4 separate regions of the Homo sapiens genome follow, and all the other regions are linked to region 2. Evidence: promoter capture Hi-C in 16 types of primary human blood cells and fetal thymus (Javierre and others, 2016). All regions are on one chromosome and are shown on one strand. The core of a region is centred on a gene start or on the middle of the fragment in contact, and the rest is flanking DNA. Distances in the headings are between cores, read along the strand shown.

Evidence for each region. The method cuts DNA at HindIII sites, captures the fragments that hold promoters and counts their contacts. A CHiCAGO score of 5 or more calls a contact.
Region 1: a contact is called between a fragment that was not itself captured here and the fragment with the promoter of PNMA3 in region 2, in 13 of 17 cell types (M1 macrophages, naive CD4 T cells, naive B cells and 10 more). The highest score is 14.4, in M1 macrophages.
Region 3: a contact is called between a fragment that was not itself captured here and the fragment with the promoter of PNMA3 in region 2, in 5 of 17 cell types (naive B cells, non-activated CD4 T cells, total CD4 T cells and 2 more). The highest score is 8.8, in naive B cells.
Region 4: a contact is called between a fragment that was not itself captured here and the fragment with the promoter of PNMA3 in region 2, in 9 of 17 cell types (M1 macrophages, M2 macrophages, naive CD8 T cells and 6 more). The highest score is 11.7, in M1 macrophages.

The regions. Positions count from the first base shown.
Region 1 is chrX:153,415,827-153,418,946 of GRCh38, reverse strand. ZFP92 (ZFP92 zinc finger protein) reads right to left here. Exons shown (of 6, transcript NM_001136273.2): 3 at 592-642; 4 at 148-274. The coding sequence starts at 624. Among named protein-coding and RNA genes, the nearest start is that of ZFP92, 5.9 kb to the right of the region's middle. The HindIII fragment of the contact is 2,125 bases long and covers 223-2,347 here.
Region 2 is chrX:153,054,089-153,057,719 of GRCh38, reverse strand. It overlaps PNMA3 (PNMA family member 3), which reads right to left and starts at 1,250. Exons shown (of 2, transcript NM_013364.6): 1 at 1,082-1,250; 2 at 1-770. The coding sequence starts at 664. The HindIII fragment of the contact is 3,087 bases long and covers 1-2,823 here.
Region 3 is chrX:153,397,297-153,400,518 of GRCh38, reverse strand. PNMA6E (PNMA family member 6E) reads left to right here. Exons shown (of 2, transcript NM_001367770.1): 2 at 1,599-3,222. The coding sequence starts at 1,670. Among named protein-coding and RNA genes, the nearest start is that of PNMA6E, 2.4 kb to the left of the region's middle. The HindIII fragment of the contact is 319 bases long and covers 1,580-1,898 here.
Region 4 is chrX:153,346,365-153,349,631 of GRCh38, reverse strand. It overlaps ZNF275 (zinc finger protein 275), which reads right to left. Exons shown (of 4, transcript NM_001367757.1): 4 at 1-2,813. The coding sequence ends at 1,657. Among named protein-coding and RNA genes, the nearest start is that of MIR12129, 13 kb to the right of the region's middle. RefSeq lists an enhancer at 1,834-2,334. The HindIII fragment of the contact is 2,700 bases long and covers 46-2,745 here.

The sequences.
Region 1 (3,120 bases), core at 36-2,535, 360 kb before region 2:
TGGATTACTGGCATTACTGGTCTGATGGAGAAATGCATTTATTCTTGGGCTCATAGCAACCGACAAACAGGAATCTCGGAAATAAACTGAGCCCAGAGACAGAGTAGGTGGGACTGGGTGTGTGTATGTCGTGGAGGGATCACTTACCCAGTGACACCAAATGGCTATAGTTCTCCAGCATCACCCGCTTGTAGAGGACCTTTTGTCTGAGGTCCAGAAGCTTCCATTCTGTCTTTGTGAAGTACACGGACACATCCTCAAAAGATACTGGCACCTAAAATAAGGCATTCTTGTGGCCACAGGGGAATTCAACCCCCTGGGCCCCTGGAGGAGCTGACAGAAACAAAATGTGGGGGGCGGGGGGAGCCCTGGAAGGCTCAGCAGGTGGAAAGACTCGGGTTGCACGAGTTGTAAGACAGAAAAACAGGCAGCACAGCCGACAGAGGCAGGAAGCCCAGATTGTGCGCCTCAGGAAAGGAAAACGATGCTAAGGGCAGCCTAAGCTCAGCCCAGCTGGAGAGGCCTGGGCATGAGGAGGCAGCAGACGGGGGCTGCCAGGGGGAGAGGCCAGGGAGAGGGGCCACCACTCACCTTGGGTCTCGTGGTCAGGAGAATGGCTGCCATCACCAGGGCGCAGAGGAGCTAAGGGAAATGCAAAGAGCCCCCTGTGAGCCCAGGGCAGCCTGGAGCAGCCAATCTGCGACCTGCTTGAAGACCCTGCTTAGTTTTTCTTGTGAAATAAGCACAGCGGCCACCTGTGGTGTTCTCACTCCTGCAGCTTCACCAAGGGCCCCTCACCATCAGACCTTCTGTATGGCTTCCTGGGGCGGCCATAATAAGTACTACAAATCGGGGCCTTCAAGCAAGACACATTTTTCTCTCCCGGTTCTGGAGGCCAGAAGTCCGAGATCCAGGTGCTGGCAGGCCCCCGCTCCACTGAAGCCCCTTTCTCGCCATTTTCGGCTTCTGGTGGTTTCCAGCAATCCTTCTTGGCCTCTGTCTTCGTGTGGCCATCCTCTCTCTGTGTGTGTCTGTGTCCCAATTTCCCTGGTCTGTTGTGAATGCCAATCACTGGATTAGGGCCCACCCTGCTCCTACAGTATGACCTCATCTTACCTTGATTACAGCTGCAAAGTCTCCCTTTCCAAATGAGGTCACAGTCACAGATACCAGGAGTTGAGACTTCAATATGTCTTTTTGGGGGGCACCATTCAAACCCAGGACACTCTCTGCAATTGAGGTGCCATGCCCACTTCCATACTGGCGCTCGCCTGACCAGGCTTTCGAGGGAGCCCGTTCCTTCTTTCCTTTCTTTTCTTCTTTTGCTGCTTTTCTTAGCTCTCTCCCCATGTGGCCAGCGTCCCCTGACCCCAACTTTCCAGCCATTCCTGGAAGCTCCACTGCCAATCCCCTTCCCTCAGGTCGGGATTCTTAAGGAAACTCCAAATGCACATGTACGACCTCCCTTTGCAAAATGAAGAGAAGAGAGGTGAGGGCAGTGCAGAATCAAGGGGGACCTACAGTAGTGGGGGTGCTCTCTGAAGGGGTGACATTCAGGCAGAGAGCTGGAGGCTGCAAGTGGCAAAGAGAGTAGCCAGCCAACAGCACAGCACATACCCTGGCCCTCAGATGGTCCTGCATTTGGCATTCGTGGTGCTGAAAATTAGGGAACAGGCGCAGAGGATGACACCACGTGGGACCCTGGAGGGACAGCAGGAAGTTGAGTTTCAGGCTAAGAGTAGGGAACATGAAATTGACAAAGTGGACAAAATTCACCTCGGCCTCAGGACTTCTCCACAGCAGTTCTCAATGCCAGATGGCAGTCAGTGCTGTGGGTTGGATATCTGAGTCTCCACACGTCACGTTGCAATTTGATCCCCAGTGTTGGAGGTGGGGCCTCATGGGAGTTGTTTGGGTCGTGGGGGTGAGTCCCTCATGAACAGATTAATGCCCTCCCTCAGGGGTGAGTGAGTCCTTGCTCTGTGAGAGCTGATTGTTAAAAAGAGCCTGGCTCCTCCCCTCATCTTGCGTCCCCTCTGGCCACGTGATCTCTGCACATGCCGTGCGCCACCAGCTCCCCTTAGACTCCCACCCTGAATGGAAGCAGCTTGAGGCTCTCACTAGATGCAGACGCCCAGTCTTGAACTTTCCAGCCAGCAAAATCCTGAGCTAAAGCAACCTTTTCTCTTTATAAATTACCCAGCCTCTGGTATTCCTGTACAGCAACACAGGAGGACTAGGACAGGGGGGTAAAAGATTGTTCCTTTCTCAGCACACGCCCCCACCAGCTACTTCCTGGTTTCTCTGCTTCTCTGCCTGGGATTTCCATTTTGTTGGTCTCCAAGCTTTTATTGATGTTCCAATGGGTGACTACAGTTTGTTTGTGCCAACAACGCCACAGGAGAGAGGGAGAGGGCACAGGATCCCAGGAGCATAGAGAAGGACAGCCACAGTATTTGCCTGGCATTTAAATTGCTCCAAAGTCCCTTATCATCCATGATGACCTGCCAGCCAACATTGGTCCAAGATACATAAGCTGATGTTCTGAATCCCTGAAGGTGGAATGGATGCTAAACCATTAGGTTAAAGACTTGAGAGAGAAAGGGGTATCACATATCAAAATGCCATCCTGTGATTATTTGAGGGCTGCAAGAGAGTAATCTAACCTAGCAGTGGGACATAGGGTGGGACAGTCCTGCTGCCAGGATGCAGTAGGAAGGTATCCTACCAAAGCCATATGACTGGATTTGAACGCAGCCTTGGCACTCAATGTCCAGTGTCCAGAGGCCCTTGGGAATAGATGACACCACAAGGAAGCAACCTGCCTGACCCAGAAAGGGGCTGTTCCATAGAGCAACGGGTCCCGTATCCTCTGCAAATCAGTGTCATGGGGGGAGAAAGGAGACTGGGGAGAGAGGCTGTTCTAGATGAAAAGAGATTTACGGGGTCCAACACCCAACTGCAAGAGGGGTCGTCAATGAGATGCTGGCGTAAATGAGAGAGTCGTCAAAGGGATTAGGGATCATTGGGAGAGGGTGATTATGGGGTGGCCCTCGGAAGGAAGTAGGGGATCATAACTGCTCATGTGTTGGATGGATAGTGGCACTGGGTCATGGAAGA
Region 2 (3,631 bases), core at 1-2,500:
CCCGGAGCCCACTGACCACCTGGAGAGCAGGGCCCCGTAAGCATTCCATCAGCCTCCGCCTCTTTTCCCCCTCGGGCACCTGCCACATCTGTAGCATCTCAGTGGTGTGCTCAAGCCAGGCATCAAAGGCCAGTGCACCTGGGATGGATATGGTGTTCCCAGAAAACACTCTTAGTTCTCGGTACAACATTTGTTCTAGCAGAGGCTGCACTGCTGCCCCCAGAGTCTGGGCCCAGGTCCAGAACTCTGGTGATATAGTCACTCTTGGAGCCGAACAATTGGTGTCCGACCCGAGGACTCGGTTCATATCTGACACGGTCCGCCTCTCCTCCTCTAAGAAGCGGTTCAGTCTGTTGAGAAATTCCCCATCTGAGTTACGGGGTTTTACAATCACTTCCCAGGGCCCCCCCTTTCCTGGTATTTCCCTTGGGAGCAAAGCATAGTCGATATCTTGTGCCAGCTCCAGTAGAATCGCCTGGGCGTTCTCCTCCCTCCTAAACATCCTGCCAATCACCCTGTATCTGCCCAGGTGCCTGCAAGCCTCCTGGAGTGTCTCCTCAAACTCATCCTCGCCACAGTCCTCGGGGATCCCCAGGATGAGCATGCACCTCCGGGTGTTCAGGTGTTCCCCCCGACACCAGTCCTGTAACAAGGTCAACGGCATGTCCTCGAATCTCTGCGGATACTAATTTGGGGGGAGTGATCAGGGCGTGAGGCACATATCTGGATCAACTCCTAGGGTGATCGCAGAAGGCCCAGGTCTCCACAGCCTGTGAATGCGAGCAGGGCGAGAGCGAGGTTAATGCCCACCTCTCCGCACGCCCACATCCACGCCCACCCCCACCCCCACCCCCAGCCGCCCTCCTCCCCGGGCGGCGCCTCTGCAGCCAGGCCCCGCCCCTGCCCAGCCCCCCACCCCCACCCCCCGTGGGGTCTCTGCGGGCCTCAGCCCCCTCCCCGCGCTGCCCCAGGACCCTGGACCCCTGCCCTGCAGGCTGCTTCAGTTCTGATAGGGCGGACAGGCGAGGGGCGGCGGAGTCTCCCGGGGCCCAGCGTCTCCCTCCCCAGGTGGGTCTGTTACCTTCTCCCAGGGCAAGGTCCCTTCTGGTCGGGGTCCCCAGAGGGCTCTCCGGGGGCTATGCGCGGCGGCGGCGGCGGCGGCGGACGGGGGTCGGGCACCCCTGGCTCCCAGCGCGGACGTTCGCTCAGACTGTGGCTCTCCCTCGCTCGCGCAGCACGTGGGCCAGTGCGCCGGCGCCTGCTCGCCGCGGCTCTCTGCAGTGCGGACACGGGGCGGGGGCGCGGCGGCGGTGCAGCGCGGACCCCTCCGCGTCGTCCGGGAGACCGCAGGGCCATTGGCGCGGACGGGTCACGAGGTCGGGCTCTCGCCGCCGCCCCTGGGGGCCCCAGGTCCCCGGGTGACGTCACCTGCTCCTCTCCCCTAGCCCCCCCGCCACGGGGGCCCCCGGGCCCCCGGGCACACAAGCGCCCGCCCACCCCCATCCCCACTGCGGTGGCCAAAGGTCTGTGGCGGCCAGTCCCCGTGCCTTTGGCTCTCACCACAGCGGTTCCTGGTCCCGGCTCCTGCCCCTCCCGCACGTGCCACGGAGGTGCCAGCGGGGCGAGGGGTCTGCACCCCGGCGTGCCCACCAGAGGGCCAGGGAGTGGTCTGAGGTGCGCCAGGCAGCTCTGCATTATGGCCAGGGTCAGGGAGCCGGGTTCTGGGGCCTGTTCACCTGCTCTTGTCCTCCCCCTCCCCGTCCAGGACTGGTCCTCTGGCTGGCGAGGCCAGGGGCACCTGGTGCGGGTGCCATTCCGTGCAGGAGATGCCCCAGGCACTCATGCAGGTCACGCACACCACCCCAAGGAGGGTCAGCCATCTCCCCGCTGTCCATCCCGCTGCTGGGACCTGAGGCCCTCCGGCCAAAGCGCTTCGCTGCCCAGGTGCCAGTGGACAGGTTTACCGGGACCTTTCCGGTTTTGTGCGCTGCAAATCTAGTGACTTGGGAAACCACTTCCAGGACTTGGAGCCCAATCCCTTGGGCCTGCCCTTCCTTGGCAGCCGTGCGCCGTGGGTTCTATTGTATCCGTTTGATCCCAGGGCAGCAGCCAAATGAAGAAGGGAGTGACTGTCCCTCAGGCAGTGGGCCCAGGTGTTCTGTGGGTCCTGCCTGCTCTGCCAGCCGCATGCTCAACTCCTATTCACACAGCTTCAGCTCCTCTCCAAACACAACGAAAAGGGGCTTGTGGTTGATTTTCAGGCCAGGTTCACCCATCCAGCCAAGTCTGGGAGGCCACCTTGCAGTGAGTGGGGCACAAAACTGTCCACTGACTTCCTGCCCCACCCTGAGTTCTGCTCGTCAGCCTGGCACTTGTCAGGGACCAAGAAGAAATGGCCCCAAGGGCTTTTTCCTGGTCAGACAGAATTCCTGAAACATCTTTACAGGAGTTATTTCATTTGCTCCTCACCAGAACTCTGAAGCAGGTATTAACATTATCCTGATTTGACTCATGAGGCTCAGAGAGATTAAGAGACATTTTCAAGGTCACACACCGTATTGAAGGTAGAATTGAGACTGGATTCTAAATTAGTGCCCATCAGTCTTTGGGTAGAATTGGGACTATTTCTCCCCTGGTTGCTTCATGCCTATTAGAATTTATTTCTCTCATTTTTGTCCATTCACAGTCCCTTGCTTTGTCACTCCAAGGGCTCAACCAGCTTCAAACTGAACCTTCATCTGCCCAACTTGCAGGGGTGGAAACAGAGGTTCAGAGAAGGGACACTACTGGCCCAAGGTCACACAGTGAGTAAATGACAAAGCTTGAGATGTCAAGGGGAGATGCCAAGTATTCATGCCAAGGCAGAGGGGCGTGTCTGGAATGTCTCCGGAAAGAAGCCTGTGAAGTTCCCAGACAGACGCAGTGATCTGTGGATGTTCTGGGCATTGGGAAAAAAGGATTTGGAAACACTGGTATCAAGACAATAGATGTGAATATGTCCAATTTGAAAAGTTTTAGAACTCCTTTATATTGGAGTTAACCTTTGCCCTTGAAACCAGTGGAAATGTCTTAATTACTTTTGCTTCCCCATCTCCTTGCATGGTAGATAACACAGCAGCACCAAAGTTGGGGAACTGATGGATAAACATTATTACTTGTAAAGTGAAAAACATAATACAGCATGAAGGAAGCAACCTCCACCGGGGTGGCCTTGCCCTGGCTTAGACCAGTAGTGACTATCGGGGTCACAAAAGGGGCAGATTCATGGGCCCCACCTCTGCAATCTGATCTGCTGAGTCTGAAACAGGCCTGGGAATTTTTTAAAGAGTTTCTGGTAATTAAATACTTTATAAAATACATTCTGCAATATTTAACATACAAAACGTACTTAAAAAGTACATCCAGTACTCCTGAATGTAGTAACTGGATGAAGACATAAAACACTGCCAGTGAGGGTAAGCGCCTGCAGATTCCTTCCCTGTTGTCTCCCACTCTTGTCCTCCATGTGCATTTCTTCGTGCTTTTTCTGCAAATGACTATATCCCTAAAAAATTGTCTTTGTCTCTTTTACACTTGGCAGAAATGATATCATACTATTCATAGTCATCACTGTATTAACTAATTATTGTTT
Region 3 (3,222 bases), core at 490-2,989, 340 kb before region 2:
CATGTCTAAGCACGTGGGACGCCCTGCTGCCCGGGGCTAGACTGGAGTGCTGCCAGCTGGGTTTAGGGGGCGCCCAGTGTGGAAGGGCACGTTGGGGGCAGGAAGGGACTGTCCCCGGTGTGCGGTGGGGGATGGGCTGGAAGGAGGGCCAATGCCTAAGGGTGCACGGGGTGCGGAGCCGGAGGCTGCCTGGCGGCCAGTGGTACAGGCGACGGTGAGCGCCCCCTGGAGGCTGTCGGCGTGGCAGTGCCGTGAGGAGCCTGGCCCCCTACAGGTGGAATTGGAAAGGCTTCAGGTCGCCTCTTCGTGGGGAATGGCGACAGGAGTTGCAGTGGTTGGAGGGGGCAGACCTTGGCCTCTGTAGAAAATACGGATTCATGACAAGGGCAAATTGTACATTCACTTAGATAGACCATATGTCGAGCCATTTAAAAATCTTCAGAAACTGAAAAGGATCGCACGTTTTCATAAGTTCTCTGATCACAGTGGAATTTTATTTGAAATTAATAACAATAACATATGTCTAGATATTTTGAAATCCATGGGTCAAAGATGAAATCACCAAGGAACTTACAAGATATTTCAAACTGCACAAAACATTCAACTTACCCAAATTACTAGCCATTTGGAAGGAAGGAAGTGGTCAGAGGAAAATTTCTTGCTTTCAGTGCTCATAACAGAAAAAAAGAACATAAAATCAATGGCCGAACAGTCCATTTAAAGAAGCTCGAAAAAGAGCAAAAGTAAACACAGAATGAGTCAAATAAAGAAATAACAGAGATAAAAAGGACAATCAGTAAACCCCGATATTAGGCTTTTTAAAGAGTACCAAAATTAATGAACCCTAGCAAGACTAATTAAGATGAGAGGGGGCTAGGCACAGTGGTTTATGCCTGTAATCCCAGCACTTTGAGAGGCTGAGGCGGGAGGATTGCCTGAGCCCAGGAGTTCAAGGCCAGCCTAGGCAACATAGTGAGACCCCTTCTCTACAAAAAGTACAAAAAATTTAACCACGTGTGTTAGCATGTGCCGGTAGTCCCAGCTACTCAGGAGGCTGAGGTGGGAGGATCGCTTGAGCTCAGGGGGTCGAGGCTGCACTGAGCCGAGATCAAGCTGCTGCACTCCAGCCTGGGTGACAGAGTGAGACCCTGTCTCAAAAAACAAACAAACAAACAAAAAACAACACACACACACACACACACACACACAACACACAAGAGAGAATGAACACTAATCAATATCAGGAATGAAGGACAGGATATTACTACAGATCATATAGACATTAAAAAGATAAAGAGGGAATATTGTGAACAAGTTTTTATCAAAAGTTTTGAAAACTGAGATAAGCTTCCCAATTCCTTTGTGGGGGAAAAAAAGTAACTTACTACAAATGGCACCAAGTAGCATAGAAAATGTGACTAGCCCTGTATCTTGCAAATAAATTTAATTTTGCCATCAAAATTTCACTAAAATCAAAGCGACAAAACAAGGAGGCAGAGGAACTCCAGCCCTGCCCCCTCACCCCCACACACGTAGGGGCAGATGAGTGGTGGGAGTGAGTGTTTGGCACAAACAAGCTTCTCTCTTTGCACTCACAGGCTGTGTCGGAGACTGCAACAGTCAGCACACATTCCTGATTGATCAGGCTCCCTCCCTCAAGTCCTCTGCGATGGCTCTGGCGATGCTTCGGGACTGGTGCAGGTGGATGGGTGCGAACGCAGAGCGCTCCCTGCTCATCCTGGGTATCCCTGATGACTGCAAGGAACATGAGTTCCAGGAGGCCGTGCGGGCTGCCCTGTCGCCCCTGGGCAGGTACCGAGTACTCACCAAGCACTTCAGAAAGGAGCTCGGGGCCAAGGCAGCCTTGGTGGAGTTCGCTGAGTATTTAAACCGAAGCTTGATTCCCCATCAAATACCAGGCAATGGGGGGCCCTGGAAAGTGATCTTCCTGCCCCAAGTACCTGTTATTGAGTTTCAGGATATGCCCAGTTTTCCTGCACAGCCCCAGGGTCAAGCAGTAGCAAAAGCTGCAGGTGAGGGAGGAGGCGCAGGTGAGGCAGGAGGTGTAGGTGAGGTAGGAGCAGCAGGTGAGGCAGGAGGCACAGGTGAGGCAGGAGCAACAGGTGAGGCAGGAGCAGCAGGTGAGGCAGGAGGCGCAGGTGAGGCAGGAGGTGTAGGTGAGGCAGGAGCAGCAGGTGAGGCAGGAGGCGCAGGTGAGGCAGGAGCAGCAGGTGAGGGAGGAGCAGCAGGTGAGGCAGGAGGCGCAGGTGAGGCAGGAGGTGTAGGTGAGGCAGGAGCAGCAGGTGAGGCAGGAGGCGCAGGTGAGGCAGGAGGTGTAGGTGAGGCAGGAGCAGCAGGTGAGGCAGGAGGCGCAGGTGAGGCAGGAGCAGCAGGTGAGGCAGGAGGCGCAGGTGAGGGAAGAGCAGCAGGTGAGGCAGGAGCAGCAGGTGAGGCAGGAGCTGTGGGTGAGGCAGGAGCAGCAGGTGAGGCAGGAGCTGTGGGTGAGGCAGGAGCTGCAGGTGAGGCAGGAGCTGTGGGTGAAGCAGGAGGGACAAATGTAACAAAAGCCTGGGTCCAGCCTTGGCGCTGCACCCTACAGCCTGTGCTGGAAAACAGGGCCTACCGGGAATTGAGACCCTTTTCCAGGAGGGAGCAGCCAGGCTGCGAGGAAGAGTCCTTTGAGAGCTGGGTGGAGCATGCCAAGGATATGCTGCAGCTGTGGTGCCATGCGTCGGAAAGGGAGAAGAAGAGGTGGCTGCTGGAGAGCTTGGGCGGCCCGGCCCTGGAAGTCGTGAGCGGCCTCCTGGAGGAAGATACCAACTTGTCCGCGCTGGACTGCCTGGCGGCGCTGGGGCAGGTATTTAGGAACCAGGACACTCGAATGACTTCGAGGCTGAAGTTCCTGACCTGCACGCAGGGGCCCCAGGAGGGGCTGTTTGCCTTCGTGGTGCGCCTGGAAGGCCTGCTGCAGAGGGCTGTGGAGAAGGGGGCCGTCTGCCCAGCCTTGGCCAATTACCTGCGACTACAGCAGGTGCTGTCTTGGGCCCGCCCCAGCGAGGCACTCCAGGATACCCTGAGAGGGATGCAGCTGGAGAAGAGGCCACCTGGCTTCCTGGGGCTGCTCCGGCTCATCCGGGAGATGGAGGCATGGGCAGCCTTCCCAGCGAGGAGCCAGCAGGGTGTGGCCTGGGCAGCGGCCCCAGTGGAGAGTGAAGACCCAGC
Region 4 (3,267 bases), core at 146-2,645, 290 kb before region 2:
GAGTGGACAAAAAATGAATGCTTGGATATGTAAAAATTAAAAGCTTTCACAACAAAAACGTAATAAAACTGCTACAAAAAGCAAAGCAATAAAATTGGAAAAGAGAACATCACCATCAATATAGAAAGAACTGCTACATAAAGTTAATATATCCGAAGGTAAGTTGATAACTAGTCAAAGGAGATGAACGGACCATTTGCATGCAAAAAACAGAAACACCATTTAAGTCATCGCATAAGAGAAAGATGAGACTGGTGGTCAGGAGGCCTGGGGTCTATCCCCAGTTCTGGAATTGACAAGCCACAGAATGACGGCAATAACTATGACAATGACAATGACAGCAGATGGCCTTCACTGAGTGTGTACCTCCATACCAGGCCGGTGGTCCTGGCACTCTGCAGCCACGATGGCAGTCCTCGTGATAACCTTCGGAGGTAGGTGCTGTGATCACCCCTGTTTTATAGAACAAGAAACGGAAGGCTGGAGAAGTACCATCTAGGCCTGATACCAGGAGAGGCTCATTTCCAAAAGGAGGCGTCACCCTGCACTTGAGTCCTTGAGATGTATCTCTTCTTAGGGGCATGCTCTCAACTATTTTATTTTGAACAAAATAGTGCTGCTTGAGGACAAGACCCATTAGTTCAAAACAACCCCAATCGATGCTAGTTTTGGATATGTATAGGGGACACCAAATTGAAATGGTTTAAGAAAAAAAGATACCGACATTTAACCCAGATTCAGTAACTGTTACTAGGCGTTTGGCCTCACAATGACATTTTGGGTGCTTTAAAAGAAAAGACGTTTAAAGGTTGTTTGAAAAAGTATGACCTTAAGTGGTTATATTGTACAGTCACAGGACAGATTAAAAAACGACAAGAGAAATCGTCCTAATGTTCTGCAAATATGGTCTTATGGCTTGGGAGAAAATTTCTAATGAGAGCCTCATGAAGGGATCGTCACTGAGCGACCGTGCAGAGCTCGGATGGAAGTGACTGGGTGTGTCTTGAAACTGTCTGATGACTCAAACAGGGTTCCCATGTTGGTGAAGACGGTGAGGAGTCAGAGTAAAATGATTTCGTGAAAGGGAGGGTGGCAAAAATGGGGTATTTTCTAAATTAATATATTATTTTATATAATATGTGATTTACAGTATGTATGTATAACTAAATTAATAAATTAAATATTTTAAGACATTTGAGTGTTCTATTTACATCCCTAAAAATTTATAAATTCAAGTAGGCCAAAAATCATGAGGGCAACGTTCTCTTCAGGAAAGCTGGGATCACATTATGAGGACGCCATCGTGGAACAGCTCTGTGTGTTTCTCTGGGGCGGGGGGAGCTTGGAGTTGATGACCTCTAAGCCCCTCCCTACCCCACATCCAGATTTGTCCTCTCTCATTCTTGGATTCAAGGCATGTGGACTGAAATACCTTGATGGTACTTCCTACCAGTTAAACTAGCCAAACTAAGTTAAATGGTACAAGCTACTCTTGATGGGCATAACGTAACACTTATAAATTGCTGGTGGCAGTATAAATCGGTCTCAACCTTTTGGAAGACAAAATATATAAGCGCTACAAAACTGTTCATCTCCTTTGACTCTGCCATCCCCTCTGGGGACTCCGTCCCTGTCCCGCGGGACCACAGGGCGTTTCTACTCGTGGTGGGTTGGCTGATGCTTCTGCAGTGCCGAGCGCCTCTTGAACACGCGGCCACACTGGCTGCATTCGCAGCGCCGCGCCCCACTGTGGATCCGCCGGTGGCGACTGAGGCCGGAGCTCCGGCGGAAGGCCTTGCCGCATTTGTCGCACTCATAGGGTTTCAGTCCGCTGTGGATGCGCCGGTGCTTGATGAGGTCAGAGGGCCCACGGAAGGCCTTGCCACACTCGCCGCATGCGTAGGGCCGCTCGCCACTGTGGATGCGTGCGTGCTCCAGGAGGCTGGAGCTCTGGCGGAAGGCCTTGCCGCACTGGCCGCAGGCGTAGGGCTTCTCGCCCGTGTGGATCCGCCGGTGCTTGGTGAGCTCCGAGCTCCTTCGGAAGAGCTTGCCGCAGTGGGGACACCCGTATGGCTTGGCCCCACTGTGGATGCGCTGGTGCTCGGCCAGCCCGTTGACCCCTCGGAAGGACTTGCCGCAGTCGTCGCAGTCGAAGGGCAGGTGGCCAGTGTGCATGCGCTGGTGCTTGAGAAGCTCCTGGCGATCCAGGAAATCCCTGCTGCACGCCTTGCAGGCGAAAGGCTTTTCCGAAGTGTGAAGTTTCTGATGTCGGAAGAGGTGGGTGTTGACTTTGAACGACCGCCCGCATTCCTCGCAATCAAAGGGCTTCTCTCTGCTGTGGACCCTCAGATGCTGACTCAGGCCTGCATTCTTCTTAAACCGTTTTCCGCACTCCTCGCACTCGAAGGGCTTTGCCTCCCTCTCCATCTGCTCCCTCTTCTCCGCGGCATTCTCCAGGGCCCTACTGGGGCCGGGCTGGGGCTCCGCAGCTACGTGGCTTTTCCTGTGCTCATTAAACTCCGCCACCCCCCTAAAGACCTTCCCGCAGTCGCCACATTCCCAGCCCTTCTCCTCACTGTGGACTCTCTGGTGCTGGACAAGCAGGACTTTAAGCCGAAAGGTGTCCCCACACTCTTTACAAGCAAAATGATGTTCTATGGGCAGATTCTGTGGGCTCCCTCTCTTCCCGTCAGAGTCCCCGTGCTGTCTGAATTCAGGACTGGGACCACTGGCCCTTGGGAAGCTTGTGGACGCCATCTCCTGTGGCTGGGCATCTTCCCCCTTCATCTGGTGTCGGGTCGCGGAGGTGCTTTCTGAAACGATAAACACAAGGCAGTGTAGTCTGCAGAGGATGAAGGAGGGAAGGGCCTCTCCTTTGTCAAGAATCTTTTTCTTTCTGAGACAGCCACTGAGCACGGGGCCTGGGCCCGGAAGCCACCAGAAGCAAGGACTGCAGAAGCCAGGGGCAGAGGGACCTCATTCTGGACACTCTCTACCACAGTGGTGCTGAGGAGGTCACCCCTTCTGTGACCAGAGAGCAGCCACACACGTCCCCAAAGGCTCAGCTGGGTCCCCCAACCCTAACCTCAACCCCAAGAGCTCAGCTGGGATCCCCAAACATAACTTGAATCTCCAAAGGGCCCTGCTGATCCTCAACCTAACCTCACCATCAAGAGCTCAGCTGGGGCCCCAAACCCTAACTAGAACTCCAAAAGCTCAGCTGGGACCCCCAACCCTAACTGTAACTCCAAGAGCTCAGCTGGGATC